7 separate regions of the Homo sapiens genome follow, and all the other regions are linked to region 4. Evidence: promoter capture Hi-C in 16 types of primary human blood cells and fetal thymus (Javierre and others, 2016). All regions are on one chromosome and are shown on one strand. Each heading gives the region's core, a stretch centred on a gene start or on the middle of the fragment in contact. The rest is flanking DNA. Distances are from core to core; before and after follow the strand shown. Region 1 overlaps MAP4K5 (mitogen-activated protein kinase kinase kinase kinase 5). Region 2 has its middle 14 kb from the start of ATL1. Region 3 has its middle 1.8 kb from the start of KLHDC1. Region 4 holds the start of VCPKMT (valosin containing protein lysine methyltransferase). Region 5 overlaps DNAAF2 (dynein axonemal assembly factor 2). Region 6 overlaps MAP4K5 (mitogen-activated protein kinase kinase kinase kinase 5). Region 7 overlaps POLE2 (DNA polymerase epsilon 2, accessory subunit).

Evidence for each region. The method cuts DNA at HindIII sites, captures the fragments that hold promoters and counts their contacts. A CHiCAGO score of 5 or more calls a contact.
Region 1: a contact is called between a fragment that was not itself captured here and the fragment with the promoter of VCPKMT in region 4, in 1 of 17 cell types (erythroblasts). The highest score is 7.1, in erythroblasts.
Region 2: a fragment that was not itself captured here is called in contact with the fragment with the promoter of VCPKMT in region 4 in 3 of 17 cell types (naive CD8 T cells, megakaryocytes and activated CD4 T cells); the score reaches 6.2 in naive CD8 T cells.
Region 3: a fragment that was not itself captured here is called in contact with the fragment with the promoter of VCPKMT in region 4 in 9 of 17 cell types (non-activated CD4 T cells, naive CD4 T cells, fetal thymus and 6 more); the score reaches 11.8 in non-activated CD4 T cells.
Region 5: a contact is called between a fragment that was not itself captured here and the fragment with the promoter of VCPKMT in region 4, in 5 of 17 cell types (fetal thymus, total CD4 T cells, naive CD8 T cells and 2 more). The highest score is 8.7, in fetal thymus.
Region 6: a contact is called between a fragment that was not itself captured here and the fragment with the promoter of VCPKMT in region 4, in 5 of 17 cell types (erythroblasts, total B cells, M2 macrophages and 2 more). The highest score is 7.2, in erythroblasts.
Region 7: a contact is called between a fragment that was not itself captured here and the fragment with the promoter of VCPKMT in region 4, in 5 of 17 cell types (erythroblasts, total CD8 T cells, naive CD8 T cells and 2 more). The highest score is 7.6, in erythroblasts.

The regions. Positions count from the first base shown.
Region 1 is chr14:50,500,776-50,503,926 of GRCh38, reverse strand. The region is part of intron 3 of MAP4K5 (mitogen-activated protein kinase kinase kinase kinase 5); the gene reads left to right. Among named protein-coding and RNA genes, the nearest start is that of MAP4K5, 30 kb to the left of the region's middle. The HindIII fragment of the contact is 3,450 bases long and covers 1-3,151 here.
Region 2 is chr14:50,544,956-50,548,216 of GRCh38, reverse strand. It overlaps a transcript of MAP4K5 not described here and a transcript of ATL1 not described here. Among named protein-coding and RNA genes, the nearest start is that of ATL1, 14 kb to the left of the region's middle. The HindIII fragment of the contact is 6,765 bases long and covers 1-3,261 here.
Region 3 is chr14:49,689,737-49,692,880 of GRCh38, reverse strand. No RefSeq gene overlaps it. Among named protein-coding and RNA genes, the nearest start is that of KLHDC1, 1.8 kb to the left of the region's middle. The HindIII fragment of the contact is 1,970 bases long and covers 270-2,239 here.
Region 4 is chr14:50,115,051-50,118,542 of GRCh38, reverse strand. VCPKMT (valosin containing protein lysine methyltransferase) reads left to right here and starts at 1,971. Exons shown (of 6, transcript NM_024558.3): 1 at 1,971-2,256; 2 at 2,364-2,474; 3 at 2,632-2,704. The coding sequence starts at 1,991. SOS2 (SOS Ras/Rho guanine nucleotide exchange factor 2) reads left to right here. Exons shown (of 23, transcript NM_006939.4): 23 at 1-1,413. The coding sequence ends at 199. RefSeq lists an enhancer at 1,975-2,034. The HindIII fragment of the contact is 15,614 bases long and covers 1,232-3,492 here.
Region 5 is chr14:49,627,620-49,630,767 of GRCh38, reverse strand. It overlaps DNAAF2 (dynein axonemal assembly factor 2), which reads left to right. Exons shown (of 3, transcript NM_018139.3): 2 at 2,613-2,756. Among named protein-coding and RNA genes, the nearest start is that of DNAAF2, 6.0 kb to the left of the region's middle. The HindIII fragment of the contact is 7,948 bases long and covers 1-3,148 here.
Region 6 is chr14:50,525,787-50,528,958 of GRCh38, reverse strand. All of the region lies in intron 2 of MAP4K5 (mitogen-activated protein kinase kinase kinase kinase 5), which reads left to right. Among named protein-coding and RNA genes, the nearest start is that of MAP4K5, 5.2 kb to the left of the region's middle. The HindIII fragment of the contact is 1,017 bases long and covers 1,201-2,217 here.
Region 7 is chr14:49,654,068-49,657,612 of GRCh38, reverse strand. It overlaps POLE2 (DNA polymerase epsilon 2, accessory subunit), which reads left to right. Exons shown (of 19, transcript NM_002692.4): 11 at 1,770-1,942; 12 at 2,519-2,608; 13 at 2,775-2,829; 14 at 3,399-3,458. Among named protein-coding and RNA genes, the nearest start is that of DNAAF2, 21 kb to the right of the region's middle. The HindIII fragment of the contact is 1,583 bases long and covers 1,019-2,601 here.

The DNA of each region.
Region 1 (3,151 bases), core at 374-2,873, 390 kb before region 4:
TGATCTCCAAAATGTCACTAACACAAATAGGGAATATAACAGAACTATACAAGCCTTTGCCTGTCCTGGAAAAGTCACTAGAGCAAATATTCAAATTATGTTCAAGGATGGTTATTCAAGTTATGTCCAGGTACTGGCGTGTGCTCTCAGAGAAAACAAAGATATTTATCCCTTTTCTGTCTTAAGCGAGTGCAGTGGGCTTGTTACAACACGGTTTCACTTACTTGACTTGAGGGTATGGCTTATTTTTCATTAGGTTGATGCATAAATAATTGCAGTTTTTGCCAACCTAATATTATAGCAGTTTTTGCCAACCTAATATTATAGTTCATTATAATGAATTAATGAGTGTATTTTTTAAATCCTGCAATTCTGAATTCTCAATAAGCCATATATTAGAACTAACATAAGAAGGCAATTCAGTAAAAAAGAAAAATATGTGTATGATTACTTAAAATATAAGGATTAAATGCAAGGATCATAAGACTCTTTTGAAAGGCTGGAATTTCTCACTGCCTTGTTTTGTAAAAGCTACTGATTATTTTATGTTAGATGTGACCCATGTATTAAGATTGAGTAATATTTCAACCTGTCCCCCAAAAAAGAATAACATGGAAGTTCAGTAAATATTGATGATGTGATCTTAGTATTTGGCCATTTAAAAATTTTTTTGGTTGCCTATTCTTATGCCTTGCCCCAGTCCTATCAGGTTATTTGTATTTTATTATTGATTTTTAGATGCTGTTTGCATTTTGGGGATAGTGACTCTTCATCATGTATTTTACACTTCCCACAATTTGTCTTCTGTCTTTGCACTCTGCTTATACTTTTTTTTTTCCATGTGGAAGTGTTCTTTTTTCTCTCCGACAAATTTGTCAGTCCTCCTTTCTCTATTCCCCATTTCCTTGTACTTAGGCCTTTTCTCCTAGATAATTATAACAATTTTGAACTGTAATTTCTTCCAGTTTTTCCTTTTTTTCCTTCCAAAATTTAAATATTTGCTCAATCAGGAGCAAGTTTGTTCTAAGGGATGAAAGAGAACTCTCTCTATGTATTTTTTCAAATGGCTAGTTTCCCAAAGCCATTACTATAGATTCAGTCTCTTATCCACAGATTTGAAGTGCCTTGGTTGTCATAAACTAAATTTCCATGTAAACATAGATTTTGTGTTCTGTTCCAGTGACTTTCTTTTTTCTATTCCTACTTCAACACTATCCTGGTTTTGATTACCAAAACTTTTGTTGCGTATTATAATCTTCACTCTTTTTATTTTTCAGGTATTTCCTGTTTGTAAAATTTTTTTCTTCAGAACTTTAAAATCATTTTTATCAAGAAGAAAAAAGGCACATAGATTAATGTAGGATATTTGGCATTTTGACAATAGTAAAGGTTTTTTCTTATTCAGGTCTTTAGGAAAGTTTTTGCCACGTCTTCATATTTATGGTATTTCTCGCTATTGGGAATGGCTTCCTTTTTCCCTCTTACACTGTCTAATTGGTTATTATAGATATTTACTTCGCCATTGATTTTATTGGTTATATTTTGTCTCTGGCAGTCTTACAGAATTCATATTTTTCTGGCAGTTTTCAAATGTTTTTCGTGGTTTTTGCAACTATACGGACATACATAGAATGTTATTTTGGCCCAGACTTTCACATTGTAGGATAGTGCTTCCAGTGTTATTAACCCATTTATGCTGGAGTTTGCAGTTTTTTGAATTGCAGACGTGTGAAAAATCAGACCTTGGTGATGACCTTGAGCCATAGGCTATAAATAACTCCCACGTGCTTAGCGTTCCCATAATGGAACAGTAGGCATAAATGAGTTCTGACAGAAGTGTTGATCATCTTCCACTAGAGTGATTTTGTCCATTTCTCCTTCCATTTGTGGCACATCTGCTTAATGTATTATATGTGTGTCAGTTGACCCATAAAATTCATGTTATATTTTCATTTCTTAATAAATATTTATTGAATACCTAATATACGCCAAGCTCTGTTCTAGAGGATAGGAATGTAGAAGAGAACAAAAAGGCAAAGACCTTGTTCTCACGGAACTTGAATTCCAGTGGGGGAGTTAGAATAATGGAATAAATGTATAATGCATTAGTCACTCATATTGGTCAGTGGCTTCAGTCTTTCCCTTACTATTGTGACTTGCATCCTCCATGTTTAATCATTCACTCCCTTAATGATCTTTGATACCCTTTTTACCTTGAATATAACTTTATCTGACATTGATATTGCCAACCCTCCTTTCTTTTTGTTTATATTTATGTGGCATACAACAAATGGATAGAACTGGTATACTTGGGCCTATCATTATCCTTTCTAGGTTGTTGATGTTTCTCTTGTAAAAAATTATATTTGACTTTTGTTTTATAACCCAATCTGAATTTTTCTTTTTTTAATATGTGAATCTGTCCACTATTATATTGTTTGGAGAGATGTTTAATTTTAATTCTGTTGTTGTTTTTGTTTTTAATATTTTCTTAAATTTTAAAAAAAATTATAGCTGGGGGTTTCTTTTATTTTTACTGCTGATAATTTGTAAGATACAATTCTGTAGTTTTGTCAGAGAATGGCTTGTAAGACCTTGAATAATATACTTAAATTTGTGGGTGTTTTAGTTTATCAGTTTAAGAAATAAAACAGTCATCTGTTGAATTCTTGGTTTACAGATTTTGAAATTTGCATATTTATACTCTTCCTGCCTCATCATCCCCCCAATTTTCAACTGTTCATTGGTTTATTTGGGGATTTTAGCCCAGAAACTTTCTGATTGCACTGGGGTATGAGTATGTATTACTATGTGTACCTTCTTTTAAGAAATATAATATTTATAATTTATAAATGCCATGACCAATTATTTAGACTTAGTTTTATATTTAGTAGATTTACTACCCACCATTGGTCTTTTTATGCCATTTCCTTTCCATTCTCACCTACTTAGTATCAACTATCAATAGGCTAAGTCATATTATCAAAAAGATTTTCCCGTATTAGGAATATTATAATTTAAATCCATAAATTGATTATTCTTCTCAAACCTGCTTTTCTTCTGCATTTTGCTAAGCAGTTAACCCATCCACAAATGTAGGCATTAACCTCGATTTCTCTCTTTTATTTGTGCTCAAGAATCAGTCTGTCAG
Region 2 (3,261 bases), core at 154-2,653, 430 kb before region 4:
TTGCTTTACTGTCTGGGGAACAAGCTGCTGTACTATCTTATCAGTGACAGCTCCAGGTATGTTTCATGTCTTAGTTGACCAGGTAACTCCCAGGAATTTGGGCCCCTATCCCGGGCCCCTGTATCTTTTTGGGGTTGGCTTCCCATCCCCTGTTCTTTAGGCCATCCAAGGTGGTTTGTAGGGTAGTCTCCACATCTGCAAGAGACTCTGAGGTTAGCATGATATCATTAATACAGTGAAACACAGAGACTGAGGCAGGCAAAGAGAGTCTAGATAGGTACTATGCAACTATACTGTGATAGATGGTGGGGTTGTGCAGGTATCCTTTTGGTAGTACCTGGAAAGTCCATTATTGGCCCTCCCAAGTGAAGGCAAACTGGTCTTGTAAATCTTCCACTAAAGGAATACTGGAAAAGGCATAATCCAAGTCAATCATAGCACGGACACTTCCCAGCTTAAGGACTACTTGCTGTGGCAGTTGAGTAATATTGGGTACGGCAGCAGATACAAGCAGCACCACCTCATTTAGCTCATGGTAGTCTACCATCATTTTCCAAGTGCCATTTGGCTTTTTCACAGGCCACACAGGGCTGTTATAGGGGTTCTGGCCTATCTGTACCTTATGTAACTTCTGGATTGTTTGGGTGATCTCAGAATCTTCCCCTGGTAGGCAGTATTATTTCATCTTCGTTGCCTGCCTGGGCTAGGGCAAGTGTACAGGCACCCATTTGGCCCATATTCTTTTTGCTCCTTGATTTATTTTCAGACTCCGTCCTTGTTTTTATTCAGCTCACAGAGGTCCACCAATGCTTCCCCTACATAACAGATTTCATTTCCCATTAACAGGTACAGAAGTACAACCAATGCCCTCTATTATAACATTTTTTTTTCAACTGGAAATCACTCAGACATTCACTGAGTACCTAAAATAATTTTAAGATTTTAAATTACACAAGAGTTCACCTATAAGCATTTATCTCATTCATATCTATCCAATTCATTCGTTTTTAGCAGTTTATCTGGATGACTCATGAGAACTGAGATATTAGACAAATCTAATCACTATTCTAACTTATTTTCCTGTTAACCATTTTTATAGCCTGTAAATATAAGATGTTCACCTAAGTAAAAACCTTAAAGTTCCCCCCTCCCCCTGTGTCCATGTGTTCTCTTTGTTCAACTCCCACTTATGAGTGAGAAACACCAGGGCCTGTTGGGGGGTGGGGGGCTAGGGGAGGGATAGCATTAGGAGAAATACCTAATGTAGATGACGGGTATATGGGTGCAGCAAACCACTATGGCACGTGTATGCCTATGTAACAAACCTGCATGTTCCGCACATGTACCCCAGAACTTAAAGTATAATAATTAAAAAAAAACCTTAAACACATGGGCATTTTGCTGATAATTCAGAAGATTTTGTTACTTTCATTGAACCAACTATATTAAATTAGTCTTATTTGTCAAAAAAACCACACAAACAAAGATCATTCTGGTTTTGGCTGGGTTTACAGTCTTATAACTTTCATGTCAAACTCTGACATCTTAAAATATCTAGCAGAGGCAAATATAAAACTTACCTAATCAGTAAACCTAGACAAAAATGTATGCAGACAATTCTGAAGACATTTCTATTTTATTTTACCAATAATTTTAAATCCAGCTTGTTTATTAAAGATTACTAAATTTACACAAACTTAAAAAGTACTTGACTTTACCTTAATGTGTGAGTACTCATTTACTTATAAGCCAAGTTGGTAGCATGTCAGACATAACATATAACACATGTACATACATATAAACATAAACATGTATGCTCTCTCACACACACACACGCACACACACACACACCCAGTACCTTTTACTTCAGAACTCTAGCCATGAGATAGTATTATAAACTCATGAGACTATAAAGGATAACTGGATCCATATCATTTTTGACAAAATTGGGACCCCTTCATATGGCTAAACTTTATTTGCCTAATAGGTAATCCAGTGAAGGCTGTGGACAAAAATTTGGGGTAAAGTAGTTTTCATAGCAGTTTGATTTTTTAAAAAACTTCTTTTACCCTCTTTTTTTTCTTCAGTTTCAAATGAGTTTCTAACATTTACATTTTAGTTAGAATTGTCTGACCTGTGTAAGAAAAACAAAATCCCCAAGTGGCTTTGAATTAGCAGTACCATAAACAGTGAGTTTGATTTCAACACCAGTAGTTTAATAACAACAGATTCAAAGCAGGCAGAAAAGAAAAGAGAGAAATAGAGAGCTTCAGAAGATCTGATGAACTATAGCTGAAGGTGAAACATTTGAGCTCTGGATTTTTCTTGCTGTAATTTGGCCATCAGTTTAAAAAGGTGCACAAGGATGAGTCATAATATGTAACCAGCTGGCGTCCTAGAAAACCTGGCATGCCTTTGAACTTCCCCATGTTTTTGGAAACATAAGCTACAGGAGTTCCAACCCTTCCTCCCTTTTATCTACCTTCTCCACCAAATCCCCAACCAGGGCCGACATGGATACTCGCATGTGCCTTTCTAACTGCAGCTCCTCCCTTAACTTTTGTATCTATTTTTCCTGCTTTAACAATTTCTCAGTAGCCAGTCTTACCACAGCAACAGCACATCTGCTATTCTTATTGTACTTTAACATCTTAGGTCCTTGCACTACATGCTTACTCCCCACTGGAATTTTCTAAGCATCCCTGTACTCAAGCAGCAGCCCACAAAGGTTGAGCAGTTGGACTATTTCACCCCACATGGATGCCGTCGACCACCCTGGGATTCCCACTGCAGACACCCCTTCCTGAATCTCCCTTTGGTCTCTTAGATCCTGTTTGTGATGCCAATTGTTATAAGAAAAGCCCAGGATTTTATAGAATAATGGTCTCCCAAACTGGGAGGGAGCTGAGACCAAAACGTGACTCAGACAGTTCAGATTGGCAAGTAGATGAGTTTATTAGGACTTACATACAGGGCGCTCCTGAGCAGCAGCAGGACAGCTCTAGAGACCTGTGCTACTTTCCATCTCTAAACTGCCTTTAATTTTCTGGCTCTTTGCCTACTGTGTTTGAGCAATGAGACTGTTTTTCTTAGTAGGTTCCCAGATACTCTCCATGATGTTTGGGTTCTCAGAAACACCTGTTCCTTGGCTGGACATCATGGCCTTGGCTCACAGCCTGGCCTTCCGAGTTCAAGCAGTGGACACACACCCTTCAGTAATCTGGTGAGGGACCTGTTACATTATAGTTGGCTTCTTTTTTT
Region 3 (3,144 bases), core at 5-2,504, 420 kb after region 4:
TTCCTTGATTATCTCAAAATGTCTTTTCTATAGTTGGTTTGTTCAGCACCGTAATTCGTTGTTAACGCCTCTTAAGACTTTACGTCTGTTTTACTCTAGAATAGCTTCTCTCCCTTCTCTCTTGTGCCATTTGTTTGTTATATGGATTAGTTTTCTTATTTTCCTACAGCCGTACCACCTTCTGGGTTTGGTTCCTCAGTGTCTTTTCTCATTAACTTGTGCATCCTTTCCCCATACTTCTTTTAGGCTGGAAGCTGTATCTAAAAGCTTTATTAGATTCTAGTTCAGATTTTTTTTTGGAAAATACTTCATATTGCATCACATTAGAAGGCACTTAAGTCTGGTGCACTTTAATGATACTTTCTATTGTTTATTTTTGACTATACAAATAAACAGAGTATCTGCTCCTTTTCTTACACAAAAGGAAGTATATACAGTGTTCCTTAACTTTCTCTTTTCACTTGACGATCCATATCAGGATACAGCAAGCAGTCTCCTCAGTCCTTTTCATAGCTTCATAGCACTCCACCGATTGGATGTGTCATAGCTTATTCAAACAGATTCTTATTGATGGACATATCGGTTATTTCCAGGTTTTTTTGGCTATCATAAATAATGCTGCGATGAAACGTTATGCATATGTTATTTTGTATTTGTACAAGCCTATCTTTGGAGTAGAGTTCTAGATGTGGAATTGCTGGGTCAGAGGATAAATGCATATTTAACTTTACAAATGTAACTGGATTGCAGTGGCTCACGCCTCTCATCTAAGCACTTTGGGAGGATGAGGTAGGCGGATCACTTGAGCTCAGGAGTTTGAGACCAGCCTGGCCAACCTGGGCAATCCCGTCTCTACTAAAAATACAAAAATTAGCCGGGCGTGGTGGCGCATGCCTGTAATCCCAGCTACAAAGGCAAGAGAATCGCTTTAACCCGGGAGGTGGAGGTTGCAGTGAACCGAGATCGCGCCACTGCACTCCGGTCTGGGCGACAGAGCAAGGTTCCTTAGAAAGAAAGAGAGAAAGAGAGAGAGAGGGAAAGGGAGAGAGAAAGAAAGAAAAAGGAGGAAGGGAGGGAAGGAAGAAGGGAGGGAGGGAGGAAGGGAGGAAGGAAGGAAGAAATTCAAGATAGACAAAAGTGATCTATGATAATAGAAAGCAGAAAAGTGGTCATTTGGGAGTAGGGAGGGGGAGGGGACTGATGGAAAGGAGTACAGGAAGTGTTCTGGAGTGATTAAAATGTTCTGTATCTTGATTGAGGTGGTGGTTACATGGGTGTATACATTTATCAAAATGCATTGAACTGCATACAGATATGTGCATTTTACTTAGTGTAAACTATATGTCAATCATAATTCTCACTCCATCACTTTATTGTTACTAGTAATATTGGTATTGTATTTTTGAAATGGAGCATTTGTCCTCCTGGACTGTAGAGTCTGGTGGAGTCTATAGACCAGCAAACAGACAATTACCATACCGTGCAGTAAGTGTGAAAATAGCAAAAGTCCAGGGCACCTTGGGTGTACAGAGGCCCTTTAACTCAGATTGAGGGAAGACAGGGAAGGTTCCTGAGAGAAAGTAAAGTCTAAGTTAAGAACTGAATGATGAACGGAAGTTGTTCAAGGAACTTTCATTCGTGAGAGGGAAGAGTCAAGGATATGCCTAGTTTACCAGCTTGGTCACTGGGTGGGAGGTGGGTGGAGCCCTTCGCTAGGTTATTGAACATGGGAGGAGGAACAGGTTTGGGGGAGGGCAGGGCTAATGGTGAGTTCATTTGGAGGCATATTGAGTTGGATTTGAAGTCTAAGAGAGCTAAGGGCTAGAGATAGGGATTTTGGAGTCATCAGCATATAATTGTTCATTTAAGTATTGGGACTTTATGAGCTGGCCAGGTGAAGGAGCCATAGAAGAAGTTGAAAATTTATTAGAGAAAGAGAATTATGATTGGGAACATTTATGGGAAAAGGGGAATTGTGAGGTCAGATTGTGAGAGAAAGCTGGGCAACTGGAATTGATTATTTTCTCTCCAATTTCTTAATATAAAAAGTAGCAAACCAAAAAAAGTTGAAAAAATAGTTCAAAGAGTACCTGTGTATCTTCCACTCCAGGTTAATAATTATTAATACTACCATACTAGCTTTATGTTTGTTGGTATGTGTGTGTCTGTCTTTTTCATTTTGTTGAATTATTTGAGAGTGGGAGTGCCTTATGGAGAAAATACATGTGATAAATAAGCTTCCTTCAGCTATGAGTTATAGGGCTCTTGGCCCTGAGTTCAGTGTTAACGAATCACAATGTAAAGATGTCTTTACATAAAAACACACATAAAACAAGGTTATAGGCCGGGCGCGGTGGCTCACGCCTGTAATCCCAGCACTTTGGGAGGCCGAGACGGGGGGATCACGAGGTCAGGAGATCGAGACCATCCTGGCTAACACGGTGAAACCCCGTCTCTACTAAAAATACAAAAATTAGCCGGGCATGGTGGCGCGCGCCTGTAGTCCCAGCTACACGGGAGGCTGAGGCAGGAGAATGGCGTGAACCCGGGAGGCGGAGCTTGCAGTGAGTCGAGATCGCGCCACTGCACTCCAGCCTGGGCGACAGAGCGAAACTCCGTCTCAAAAAAAAAAAAAAAAAAAAAACAAAACAAGGTTATATGTTGATCAGTTGATGAAAACATTGTCACCAGAGGCTCACAGGAACCTAATTCTGTACTTCCCCTAGTAGGAATGGTTTAGTATTCAATAATTATTTGTTGGTGGCTACTTATAAAATCTAACTATCACAGGTACAGTAATGAGAATTAACTATATGTCTTTCTATTCGTATTTCCTATCCTTTCTTACATAAAAATTAAAAATTTCTTTGTACTTTTTGTCTTTGAAAAATATTTCACTAAATAAAGAGAACTGTGTTCAAAAATCACTTGTGATGTTATGTTACCAATTTAATATACAATTAGGTGTATTAGTTTTAGTATGCATTCAATTTTAAGCTCACCTTTTTATTTTCTATTTTTTGAATATGTAAAACATGCACATGGATTAAAAGTCTCACTGTAAAGAAAGTTTTCACTTTCATCCCTATCCCCTCACCCCTTTGTAGTTAACCATTTTTGTGGTCTCTGATTTAACCTTCCAGA
Region 4 (3,492 bases), core at 722-3,221:
TCCAAGGGTACCGCGTCGATGCTATGTGCTCAGTTCTAGTCAGAATAATCTTGCTCATCCTCCAGCTCCCCCTGTTCCACCAAGGCAGAATTCAAGCCCTCATCTGCCAAAACTGCCACCAAAGACTTACAAACGGGAGCTTTCGCACCCCCCATTGTACAGACTGCCTTTGCTAGAAAATGCAGAAACTCCCCAATGACCTTAGCCATATGTAGTCATTGACACTGGAATGGTATTTGTAAAGTTTTTTTTTTAATTTATTCAAAAAAAGACATAGTATTTTAGTACTTTTTACAAATAATGCTCTTACAAAAATGCTACTGATCAAATAAGCTTTTAAGAATTGGAAAAATAAAAATACAAAAGTCCTTCACCATTATCCTCAGGTGATCAGTAGCATTGCCTTGTCTTGGATCCTCAGTGCTGCCAAAAGGCCAGTATAAAGAATTTATATTTGCACTGTAAACTCTGCAAAAATATGGTTTAAAGTGACATGATTGCACTGAAAAGGGATAGTGCTTTTGTGAAATTTTTCAAATTTGAGTAATAGATGCCTTTTTAAGGCAGTGAATTTACACAAATATGGGAGGGGTATATGGTGTTACTGATTTTTAAACCTCTTTGACCATCTTCTAGTTTTTACTTCTAGTTTTTACATCTAGGAGAATTGTGAATAACACCAACTGTTCTTAAACTCTTTAATGCCATGTCTTAAATGCCGGTATTTGCTGCTGAAGACAAAAATGAAAAGTAGGATGAAAATAATAGAATGGCACTGTAAGTGTTTATTATTTTGTCAAAATGTAAACAAAGACTACATAACCCAATGATGGAGGGAAAAAGGGCATGTATCTCATTCAGATGTGCCTTTTGTTTTTGCAGACTATGACGTCTTTAGCTAATGAATTGCCTATTGTTATGGAAAACAGTTAATATGCCATGTATGTACAGTTTTGTTTATATTGTATATTTAAAGATACTGCTAATAACCTATATAAATTTAAGTGACTTGAGGCCTATAATACAATCTGCTACTTTACTAATTCATAAATTCAAAAAAAATTCTATGGCATAGGAACCAACTGCCTTGCCTTCAAGACCTAGTAACTTTCTCTATAAATCTCGTGTTAACTGAAATTTTTTTTAAATATATTTTTTAGATTGGTAATATTTAAACCAGCAAATACTTAAAGCTTTATTAAACATTTTAATCAGATAAGTGAGTAAAGCTTTTATTTGCCATTTGGATGCCTTCGTTCAAAGTGATAGAGTGTTTTGCTGATAGTGCTGTAGCAGCAGTTGTAAAGTAGCCAAAAGCCACGTTGTTTATTTACTGGTTTGTGGCCTTTTACTGTGCTTTGTATCAGAGTTCTTAACAAGATTAATAAATCACCCCAGTCTTAATTTTTAAAAGACTTTTAAAATATGTGTTTTCATTATAAGGAACAAAGGGGGAGATTGTTGAGTCCTATAGACACACACACACACACACACAATTTTTTCTTCACTGTTAAATGTGAGCTGCAGGCTTCTAGCAACCACTTTTATGAATTCATACAAAAAACTAGGAGCATACTAGGAACTTGAAAAGGAAGATTGTAAGATTATAGCCATCTTTGGTAGGATCTTGGAAGCTGATTGCATTTAAGCCTTGTAACTACTATGTAAATCAAGTGTCCAACTTGGTAAACTCTGAGGTTGGCTTTGTTTTTTAAAGAGCAGATTATAATAGTTTTGTCTGGGAAAGTGATTTAAACGGCCTCTTCGTTAAGCCAAACGTGTGATTTAGGGTAGAGGGAGGCTGCCAAGCGCGTCGGGTAAGCAGGGGCCCCACGCTCGGCCCCGCCCAGGTAACGCTGCCTTCCGGGCTTTGTTAACTCGCGCGCGCTGCGTCGCCAACTCAGCGGCGGGCAGGGGGCGGAGCCGCAGGGCGGGGCGGTGCGCGTTGATGTGACGTCCCTGCGCGCGCCGCTTTCTGTTGCCGGGCGCAATGGCGGATACGCTGGAGTCCTCGCTGGAGGACCCACTGCGGAGCTTTGTGCGAGTTTTGGAGAAGCGGGATGGTACAGTGCTACGACTACAGCAGTATAGCTCCGGTGGCGTGGGTTGCGTTGTGTGGGACGCTGCCATTGTCCTTTCTAAATACCTGGAAACGCCCGAGTTTTCTGGCGACGGGGCCCACGCGCTGAGCCGGCGGTCGGTGCTGGAGCTGGGTTCGGGCACCGGGGCCGTGGGGCTCATGGCTGCTACCCTCGGGTAAGAGCTGGCGGGCGGGCGGGATGTGGGGGCGCCTTCTTGCTGGGGAAATCCGGATTACAGGCTTTCCCCCCTGTGCCTACACCTCAGTCGACGTTATTTTATAGGGCTGATGTTGTAGTCACCGATCTTGAGGAATTGCAAGACTTGCTGAAGATGAATATTAATATGAACAAGCATCTTGTCACTGGTTCTGTTCAAGCCAAGGTACTGAAATGGTTTGTATGGCCTTTCAGCTTGTTTTAAGATATTGATTTGTAGTTTGTTTTGAATTGCGTTTCATTAAAAGGATGGAAGGGGACTTTCCGGTTCTTTATAAAACAAGAGTATTTTGAATTATTAAAACAATTGAAATATTTGTTTGGCATTTTTAAGGGGGGAAGAAATAGAAGGCTTTCCTTCTCCACCCGACTTCATACTGATGGCCGACTGCATATACTATGAAGAGGTAAGTATCCAGTGAGCGAAGTCTCTTCACTTAGAAGATGAACCTTATTCCATGAATTCTAAAGCACACGTTTCTTCACATTTTAACATCTTTGAATCCGGGATTTGCCTTATAGTTGATGCAGTAAAGAGAAGATAAAAGTCACCAGGGACCATATGTATATACGCTCATCATTATCATACCGACCTGGTGAAGCATGTTGAGAAAAGTGTTATATGCATTTTACTAGAGGCTTCTGTAAAAATTTTAAAGGATTTTGCCAATTGGATGTTATGAAAAGCCAAAATCCTCTCTTTTTCCCTTGGTTGTTCCCACGGAACATGTTAACCATGACATTGAGAATTAAGTTATAAATAATTCATTGTTCTTTTCTTTAAATACCAGTTTGGGCCGGGCGCGGTGGCTCACGCCTGTAATCCCAACACTTGGGAGGTCAAGGCAGGTGGCTCACCTGAGGTCGGGAGTTCGAGACCAGCCTGACCTACATGGCAAAACCCTGTCTCTACTAAAAATACAAAATTAGCCAGGCGTGGTGGTGCATGTCTGTAATCCTAGCTATTTGGGAGTCTGAGGCAGGAGAATCGCTTGAACCTGGGAGGCGGAGGTTGCAGTGAGCCGAAATCATGCCATTGCATTCCAGCCTGGGCAACAAGAGCAAAACTCTGTCTCAAAAAAAAAAAAAAAAAAAAAAAACATCAGTTTGTATAGTGTTGTGGGCATCGATTATTTTAAAAATAATTAGCATTGAACCAAGTTAGGGTCAGATTTAACTTTTGTAGGGAAATCGT
Region 5 (3,148 bases), core at 491-2,990, 490 kb after region 4:
AAAAAAAAAAAGTGTGTGTGTGTGTGTAGAGAGTTTGTGTGTGTGTGTGTGTGTGTAGAGAGTTTATGTGTGTGTGTGTGTGTGTGTGTGTGTGTGTGGAGAGAGAGTTTATTTGGGCCAAAATAGAGGACTGCAACCTGGGAAACACATATTCAAGTTGCCCTGAATATATGTTCCCAAGTTCAAGAAACTTGAAACTTGTTTCTTTCTGATATTTTCCACCTATTTGGACCAAATAATGAGCTGTGTTTATTTTGTAATTACAAAATTTGCTTATATAAAACTACAGAGGAAAACATTTTTATTTGGGGCAACAATGAACTGCTTTTATAAATTAATTTAAAATATGGTTAATATGGTTATTCTCCCCACACCCTAACTATACACCTGTATTCACTTGACATGAACAAACTGCTTTGTGTTTGGGATTCAGGTAAAAGGTGATTTTTGCATTTTCTAGTAATAGTTTAGAAATCTTTTCATGTCAGCATCTTGAAATCTACCTCATTATTTATTTATTTATTTATTTATTTGGGAGACAGAGTCTCGCTCTGTCTCACCCAGGCTGGAGTGCAGTGGTGCGATCATGGCTCACTGCAGCCTCAACCTCCCAGACTCAAGCGATCATCCCACCTTAGCCTCTGGAGTAGCTAGGACCACAGGTGCATGCTACCACTCCCGGCTAATTTTTGTATTTTTTGTAGAGATGAGTTTTGCCATGTTGCCTAGGCTGGTCTCGAACTTCTGGGCTCAAACAATCCACCTGCCTTGGCCTCCTAAAGTGCTGGAATTATAAGCATGAGCCACTGTGCCCAGCCTAATTTTTTTCATAATTTACTTTTTCTCTGGAGCATAGATTCAAAATGCCCTGAATATATGCTCTCTACTTCATTCTTTTAATAACTATACAGTTTGCTAATGTTACGCTGGAGTATCCCAGTGCTTAAAAATATAATACACTTGGCTGGGTGCAGTGGCTCACGCCCGTAATCCCAGCACTTTGGTAGGCCAAGGTAGGAGGACAGCTTGAATCCAGGAGTTGGAGACCAGCCTGGACAACAAAGTGAGACCTGTATCTACAAAAAATGTCAAATTTTTTTTTTTGAGACAGAGTCTCACTCTGTCGCCCAGGCTGGACTCACTGCAATCTCCGCCTCACGGGTTCACGTGATTGCAGTTTTAGTAGAGACAGGGTTTCACTATGTTGGCCAGGCTGGTCTCGAATTCCTGACCTGAAGTGATCCACCCACCTTGGCCTCCCAAAGTGCTGGAATTACAGGCGTTAGCTGCCACACCAGGCCCCAAAAATGTAAAAATTAGCTGGGCATTATGGCATGCACCTGTAGTCCCAGGTACCCAGGCACTTGGGGGCACAGGTGGAGGATTGCTTGAGCCAGGGAGGTCAAGGCTGCAGGGGGCTATGAGTGTGCGACTGCATTCCAGCCTGGGCAACAAAGTGAGACCCTGTCTCAAGGCAAAAAAAAGAAAAAAAGGGGGGCGGGGGCTGGGTGTGGTGGTGGCTCACGCCTGTAATCCCAGCACTTTGGGAGGCCAAAGCAGGTGGATCACTTGAGTGCAGAAGTTTGAGGCCAGCCTGTGCAACAGGGCAAAACCCTGTCTCTACAAAAAAATGCAAAACTTAGCCGAGAGTGGTGGCATGTTCTGTGGTCCCAGCTACTGTAGAGGCTGAGGCGGGAGGATCACTTGAGCCTGGGAGGTCAAGGCTGCAGCGAGCCGTGATTATGCCACTGCACTCCAGCCTGGGAGACAGAGCAAGACTCTGTCTCAAAAACAAAATCAAACAAAAAAACACACCACTTATTTGAAATAAAATACTGTAATTGGCTCTTACCTGCCCAAGAACTAAAAGGTCACACAAAATTTGAATAGATCTTTTCATGTATATTTCTTAGCCACCTCATTAGGAAATGTTTTAAAGCTGAATTATATTTTGTATCTGGGATCCCATTTATAGCCCTAGAGATGATGTTATTCTTCTGAAATACTAAAAGAGGCCAGCTGTGGTTGCTCACACCTGTAATCCCAGCCCTTTGGGAGGCCAGGGCAGGTGGATAGCTTGAGGTCAGGAGTTCAAGACCAGTCTGGCCAACATGGTAAAACCCCATCTCTACCAAAAATACAAAAATTAGTCCGGCATGGTGGCAGTCGCCTGTAATCCCAGCTACTCGGTAGTCTGGGGCAGGAGAATTGCTTGAACCTGGGAGGCGGAGGTTGCAGTGAGCCGAGATTGCACCACTGCACTCCAGCCTGGGCAACAGAGTGAGACTATGTCTCAAAAAAACAAAACAAAAGAAACAAAAAAAGAAAGAAAAATACTAAAAGGTCAGGTTTAATAGACAGAAAAAGTACCAAGACCTCTTTCTTTTAGGTTCTTTTTCTATACGTTTATGTTTGTTCTCAGTACAACTCTTATTGCTCTGTACAATACCAAACTTAAATTTTTCTAAGACAGCTCATAGGAATAACATTAAAATAAACATTTTAAAAAGTGTAACCCTGAACAATGTGAGAATTTTTGTGAGCTGCTTTGAGATACAACTGTTGTCAAGTGGGACTTATTAGGCAGAATATTTTTTCCCTTTTTATTTTAGGAAAGGTTATTTGTCAATGAAGAAAATGTTAATGAGTTTCTTGAAGAGGTCCTGAGCTCTCCATTCAAACAGTCTATGTCCTTGACCCCACCATTAATTGAAGTTCTTCAAGTTACTGATAATAAGATTCAAATTAATGCAAAGGTAAGGAAGTTGATGGGCTCTATAGAGGAGTAATGAAGCACAGAGTTAAAACCTAACAAATTATTGATTTCTTAATATCATAACTTTAAACAAAATTTACATAATGGTTGGGCAGAGTGATGTTAAGAGAAGAAAAGTTTTTCTTTTTTTTTTTTTTGAGATGGAGTCTCCCTCTGTCACCCAGGCTGAAGTGCAGTAGCGCGATCTCATCTCACTGCAACCTCCGCCTCCTGGGTTCAAGCGATTCTCCTGCCTCAGCCTCCCAAGTAGCTGGGACTACAGGAGCATGCTACCATGCCTGGCTAATTTTTTGTATTTTTAGTAGAGATTGGGTGTCACCGTGTTAGCCAGGATGGTCTCGATCTCCTGACCTCATGATCCACCCGCCTCGG
Region 6 (3,172 bases), core at 460-2,959, 410 kb before region 4:
TTTAAATTTACTCCTTAGTATGCCTAAAAACACATAACCTGAAACTGTAGTGCTGAATTTTTTAAGCTCTGGGCAATTAGAGTAATTTTGCTATTTATCACTGTGTTTCTGATGAGCTGAACATCCTAGGACGTTTTAGAAGTATTTTCAATGTAGGATATAAACTAGTGAAATACCTGCAGTAAAGAATAATGAAGGTAAATTAGCCACTGTTCTACTCAGATAATATCCCCCTGTGTTTTTGAGAGATGGTCTTGTGCTTTAGGCTGGAGTCCAGTGGCACGATCAGCTCACTGCAGCCTTGAACTCCTGGGCTTAAGGGATTCTCTCTCCTCAGCCTCCTCAGTAGCTGGGACTACAAGTGTGTGTGGCAACATGCCTGGCTAATTTTTTTTTTTTTTAATGTAAAGACAGGGTCTTCCTGTGTTGCCCAAGCTAGTCTCAAATTCTTGACCCCATGTGATGCTTCTGCCTCAGTCTCCCAAAGGGCTGGGATTAATAGGTGTGAGCCACCAAGCCTGGATTTTTCCCTGCCTTTTTTTTTTTTTTTTTTTTTACACCTTAGGTATCTTTTGAAGCAGAAGCTTTAAAGGACTCTGGCTTTGAGATTCTTCGTAATTTACTTTTATGTTCATCAATACCACAGATCCCCTCTGAAGCTTCCATCTTTCCTGAGAATCCCCAAGAGGGAGAGTTCAATCTTATATTGGCTGTTCTTTGGTTGAAAGAAGAGGAGGAACATAAAGATTCTTTTAGATAAATGGAGTGAATCATTGAGGGCAAGAGCAGGAAATGGTAGAGGGAAAAGAAACACAGAAGAGAAAAGGAATTTGGTGGATGGTGGATGAAGGATTAAATGTCAACTGAGCAGCTTTTATTTGTAATTACTGTAAAAATGTAGATCTGCCAGCAGGAAGGATAAATCTGGAGATTTAGATTCTCAACTACCTCTGACCACAAGGATCTATAACAACTACAGCATCATGATACAGTTCATAATCAGTAGTACAAGCCATTTGGGCAGCCCTTATCCAAATATTTGTATCAAAATTGCTTCCAGCCTAGATTTCAGAGAAGTTCTGGCAATCTGGCTTTTTATTTTTATTTTTATTTATTTATTTATTATTATTATTATTATTATTTTACCTTTCATAGAATATAAATTTAGACTGGGCAATCCTATGAATTTTTTTCTAAGCTTTATTGCTTTATCTGATTGATTATAGAAGAATAACATGTTTAGTTCCCAGGGGACAGAAACAGATGTCTCTTGCACATCTTTGTAATGTAACAAACAAATGCTCAATAAATATTTGTTGAACAAATTAGTTGTAGAAAATTACTCAGAGATAGGTACTGCTAATAATTTAATACAGTTTATTTCAGGCTTATTTCCTAAATGTTTTTAAATCAGTATTTCCAAAATGGCTTTTATATTTAATTTATGATTGGGAATATGATACAGGTCTTTTTTCTGTTTGATTGAAATGACCAGCATTTTCCCTAGTCGTTAAATATTCTACAAAAGTACATTTTTTTTTTTTTTTGGATGACAGGGTCTTGCTCTTTTGCCCAGGCTAGAGTGCAGTGGTGTAATCATACAAAAGTACTTTTTTTTTTGAGACGGAGTCTTGCAGTGTCGCCAGGCTGGAGTGCGGTGGCGCAATCTCAGCTTACTGCAACCTCCTGACTCCCTGGTTCAGGTGATTCTCCTGCCTCAGCCTCCTGAGTAGCTGGGATTACAGGCATGTGCCACCACACTCAGCTAATTTTTGTATTTCTAGTAGAGACGGGGTTTCACCAGGTTGACTAGGATGGTCTCAATCTCCTGACCTCGTGATCTGCCCACCTTGGCCTCCCAAAGTGCTGGAATTACAGGGTGAGCCACCACACCCAGTCAAAAGTACTATTTTTAAAGGATCCGTTGAATGAGCCTTCATTTAGTTAATCATTCTAAGTTGCATATTTGTTATTTCTAGTTTTTAAACTTTTTTTTTTGCAATTATAAATGATGTTATAATTTGCGTAGAAGTCTTTGTCATGTAGTCTTATCACTAACGTGGGTTCCTCTGGATGCTAGATGAATTAGGTCTGCTATGGGGAATCTCCTTTATGTATGCCTTTACTTTCTTTTCCTCCAGCCAAGAGTCACCATTCTGGAATGGCTTTAGGCACTTTGAAACATATCCCAAGATCCCATTTTATAGAGACAAAGCTTAATGTATCATCACACTTCTAGAAGCATTCATTCATTAAAGAAGTATTTGTTGAGTGCTGACAATGTGTTAGGATATGGGGATGCAAACATGAGATGAAGTACACTGTCAATAAGGAACATATGGTTTAGTCAAGAAAACAGACGTGGCCAGGCGCAGTGGCTCACGCCTGTAATCCTAGCACTTTGGGAGGCCAAGGCTGGTGGATCACCTGAGGTCAGCAGTTTGAGACCAGCCTGGCCAACATGGCAAAACCCCATCTCTATTAAAAATACAAAAATTAGCCGGGCATGGTGGCAGGTGCCTATAATCCCAGCTACTTGGGAGAGGCAAGAGAATTGGTTGAACCCGGGGGTCGGAGGTTGCAGTGAGCTGAGATTGCGCCACTTCACTCCAGCCTGGGCAACAAAAGCAAAACTCCATCTCAAAAAAGAAAAAAGAAAGCAGACATGTAAGCAGTCATAATTTGGTAGAAAATTATGTGCCATAGAGGAGAAGTGGAAGAAATGCCAAACTCTGCCTTTATTGGGGATGAAGGAAGGGAGAGAGAGGAGTGTGAACCAAGGAAGATTAACAGAGGAAGGAACATTAACTGGATTTTTAAAAGAAGACCAGTGGTTTCTAGGTAGAGAAGATAGGAAAAGATATTCCAGGCTTTGGGTATAGTATGTGCAAACACCTGGAGGCTTGAGAAGCCGTGATGAGTTTTGAGAGATCTGCATCTGTATTCATTCCAGGTTCAGTGTGACATCTGGCAGAGATGTCATTTCAATTATTTATTTTTATTATTTTATAGATGGAGAATAGAGGCTATTTTCTGGCAGGAAACACCAGCTAATGGACTCCATGTGTCATATCAAAGAATTTGGACCTTTTCAATTATTTATTTTTATTTTTTTGAGACAGGGTCTTACTTTTTCACTTAGGCTGCAGTGTAGTGGCATGATCTCAGCTCA
Region 7 (3,545 bases), core at 561-3,060, 460 kb after region 4:
CAAAATTGGCTGGATGCGGTGGCATGTGCCTGTAATCCCAGCTACTCAGGAGGCTGAGGCAGGAGAATTGCTTGAACCCGGGAGATGAAGGTTGCAGTGAGCTGAGATCGCACCGCTGCAGCACTGCACTCCAGCCTGGGAGACAGCATGAGACTCCGTCAAAAAAAAGAAAAAAAAAAAAAAGGAATCAACTATAACAAGATATGTATGTGTATATCTGGAGAGTTTCTTTTTATGCATGAATGCACAGGTCTATATCTATTCCCTTTTTTTGGCATTATAAATGGATACATACTGTACCTTGCTTTGTAACCTGTGTTTTTCATCTAATAATATGCTATCAACATTTTCTATTACTGTGAAATATTGTTTTATAGCATGATTCGTGACATTCAGGAAATATGTTTTGAGCACATACTGTATTGCCACTAGGTGGGGAGACAGACATGAAACAATCGCCCAATTACAATTGGCTGACTACAATTTTTTTTTTTTTTTTTGAGGCAAAATCTTGCTTTGTTGCCCAAGCTGGAGTGCAGTGGCATGATCTCGGCTTACTACAACCTCCATCTCCTAGGTTCAAGCGATTCTCCTGCCTCAGCCTCCCGAGTAGCTGGAATTATAGGTGCCTGCTGCCATGCCCGGCTAATTTTCACATTTTTAATAGAGATGGGGTGGATTTCACCATGTTGGTCAGGCTGGTTTTGAACTCCTGACCTCAAGCAATCCCCCCACCTCGGCCTCCCAAAGTGCTGGGATTATAGGTGTGAGCCACCCTGGCCTGATTACAAATTTGATAAGATCTGCAAAGGAGAAGTACAGGTTCCTATGAGAGTGTATAATGGGAAAATCTAACCTCTTTTGGGATCCTCAGAGGAGGCCTATGGGGTATTTGCATTTAAGCTGGGAACTGCAGGATGTCAGTGTAGAGTGGGCAAGAGTGGTGGAGGCTGGGAGTGTGTAGATTACCCACTTTCCTACTGACCCTTGCTTGGTGAGCATTGAATAAAACCAAGCTTTGAAGGAACCGTTGAATAATTTTTTCACAGTTCTTGGATATAGGCTAGTCTTTGTATATATCTTTAATTCCTTAGGATTAGCCATTCCAGAAGTAGAATTACTTGGGCAGATGGTTAGCACATATTTTGAGGTTTCTATGAGATATTGTTCAAATGGTGTACTCATTTCTTCTACTTTCAGTGACATAGGAAATTATTATTTTAATGTTTGCTTTAGTCAGTTTTTTTTTTTTTTTTTTGAGACAAGAGTCTCACTGTCGCCCAGGTTGGAGTGCAGTGGCGCAATCTCGGCTCACTGCAGGCTCCGCCCCCCGGGGTTCACGCCATTCTCCTGTCTCATCCTCCAGAGTAGCTGGGACTACAGGCGCCCGCCACGTCGCCCGGCTAATTTTTTGTATTGTTAGTAGAGATGGGGTTTCACTGTGTTAGCCAGGATGGTCTCGATCTCCTGACCTCGTGATCCGCCCGCCTCGGCCTCCCAAAGTACTGGGATTACAGGCGTGAGCCACCGTGCCCGGCCGTTTAGTCAGTTTTAAGACACAGATATAGCCTATTATTTTATTTACTGCTTCCATATTGCTTATCTTGTTTTAGAATATTTAGATAACCTTTGTACTTTTAAAGTGTTACAAAGAGTACCTTTTTACACTGGAAAATAACTTCATTAGATACAAAGAAGCTAAATGTATACAACTATTAGAAAAATATCTCTAGTGGTATATAGAAGATAATTATGTTATAATTATCTAGGGCATACTATGGAAATATTAATTTTTTTGGAGGTCCTTCTAATACATCTGTGAAGACTTCTGCAAAACTAAAACAGCTAGAAGAGGAGAATAAAGATGCTATGTTTGTGTTTTTATCTGATGTTTGGTTGGACCAGGTGGAAGTATTGGAAAAACTTCGCATAATGTTTGCTGGTAGGTCTTATTTTTTTTCTTCTTTCTTGAACTCTTTTAAGGGTTCATGTTTTAAAACTTTTTGAGTATTCTATTTATCTTTTTGAGTATTCTATTTAAAAAAAAACAGAGTTAGCAATGAGATAATTTAAATTAGATTTCATTTTAAAGACTTAAATTTTTACATTAAGAAAAAAACCTGTGTGTGTGTGTGTGTGTGTGTGTGTGTGTGTTTATAGTCATGATAAGTAAGAATTAGTCCTGAAGTTCAAGACCAGCTGGACAACATAGTGAGACCCCATCTCTAAACAAAAACAAAAACAAACTGGGTTTAAGTGCAAGCCTATTACCCTGGGCAGGTTACTTAACCTAAGTCTCAGATTTTATGGATGTTCTGAGGAGTAATTAAGCCAATGCAGGCCTGGCCTATAGTAAGTGCTCAATGAATGGCTACTGTTATTAGTATTATTTTAATAAGTTATTAAAATGTTATTTTAATTAAAATAAATTTTTATTATTAGAAAGTCATGGTTAAAGGGTTTTTAACTTGATTTGTAGACTAGAAAAGTATTGTTCATTTACTCTTTTATTGTTTAGGTTATTCACCAGCACCTCCAACCTGCTTTATTCTGTGTGGTAATTTTTCATCTGCACCATATGGAAAAAATCAAGTTCAAGCTTTGAAAGGTATTAACGATCTATTTAATAAGAAGTGTTTCTATAGTCATATAAACTAAAGTAATAAGAAATTATCCATAATATTTTAATTAAGAATATACAGGATTGTATCTAATCAAATATAATTTTATGGCATTATATGCAAATTTAATTCAATACCTTTTTAAAATTTTAGATTCCCTAAAAACTTTGGCAGATATAATATGTGAATACCCAGATATTCACCAAAGGTAATGATCTCTAGCACTATATATTTTTTCACCGTTTTACTTAAAAAAAAAACAAAAAATGAATTTTGTTATATCAGCAATTATTACAAAACTAAGGAAGAAAGATAAAGTTGAGAAAATTAAAAGAACTAAGAGATAAAGTTATCCTCACATTGTACTAGAGGTTTATAATGAAAAGTATTGAAAGGGATAGAGGTAATTTCAGCCATACTTGGAATTTCTTCGTGGCATTACTCTTAAGAGTCTAGAGCTTCACTCTCCGATATGATAGTCACTGGCCACATGTCTCTTTAAATCTAAGTTTAATTAAATTTAAATATAAAATTCAGTCCATCAGCTATGCTAGCCACAATTCAAGTGTTCAATTGGGCAGTGCAGATATAGAACTTTTCTATCATGACATTACTAGACAGTGTTGGTCTGGAGACTTAATAGTTCATTTATTATAATGCATGAAATTTAAATGTTTTTTAATTTTAAAGAGAAAACAAAGGGAATAACTTGCTTTTAAGCTATTGGATAGTGTTACAATAATATTTTTAAATGAATTGTGTTGAATTTTGCTACAGTAGTCGTTTTGTGTTTGTACCTGGTCCAGAGGATCCTGGATTTGGTTCCATCTTACCAAGGTAAGTTTTGTTCAGATTTTTGCAACAGTGTAGAAAATTTTGTAAAACTTAAAAAGATAAACTATATCACATAAATTGTTTTTATAG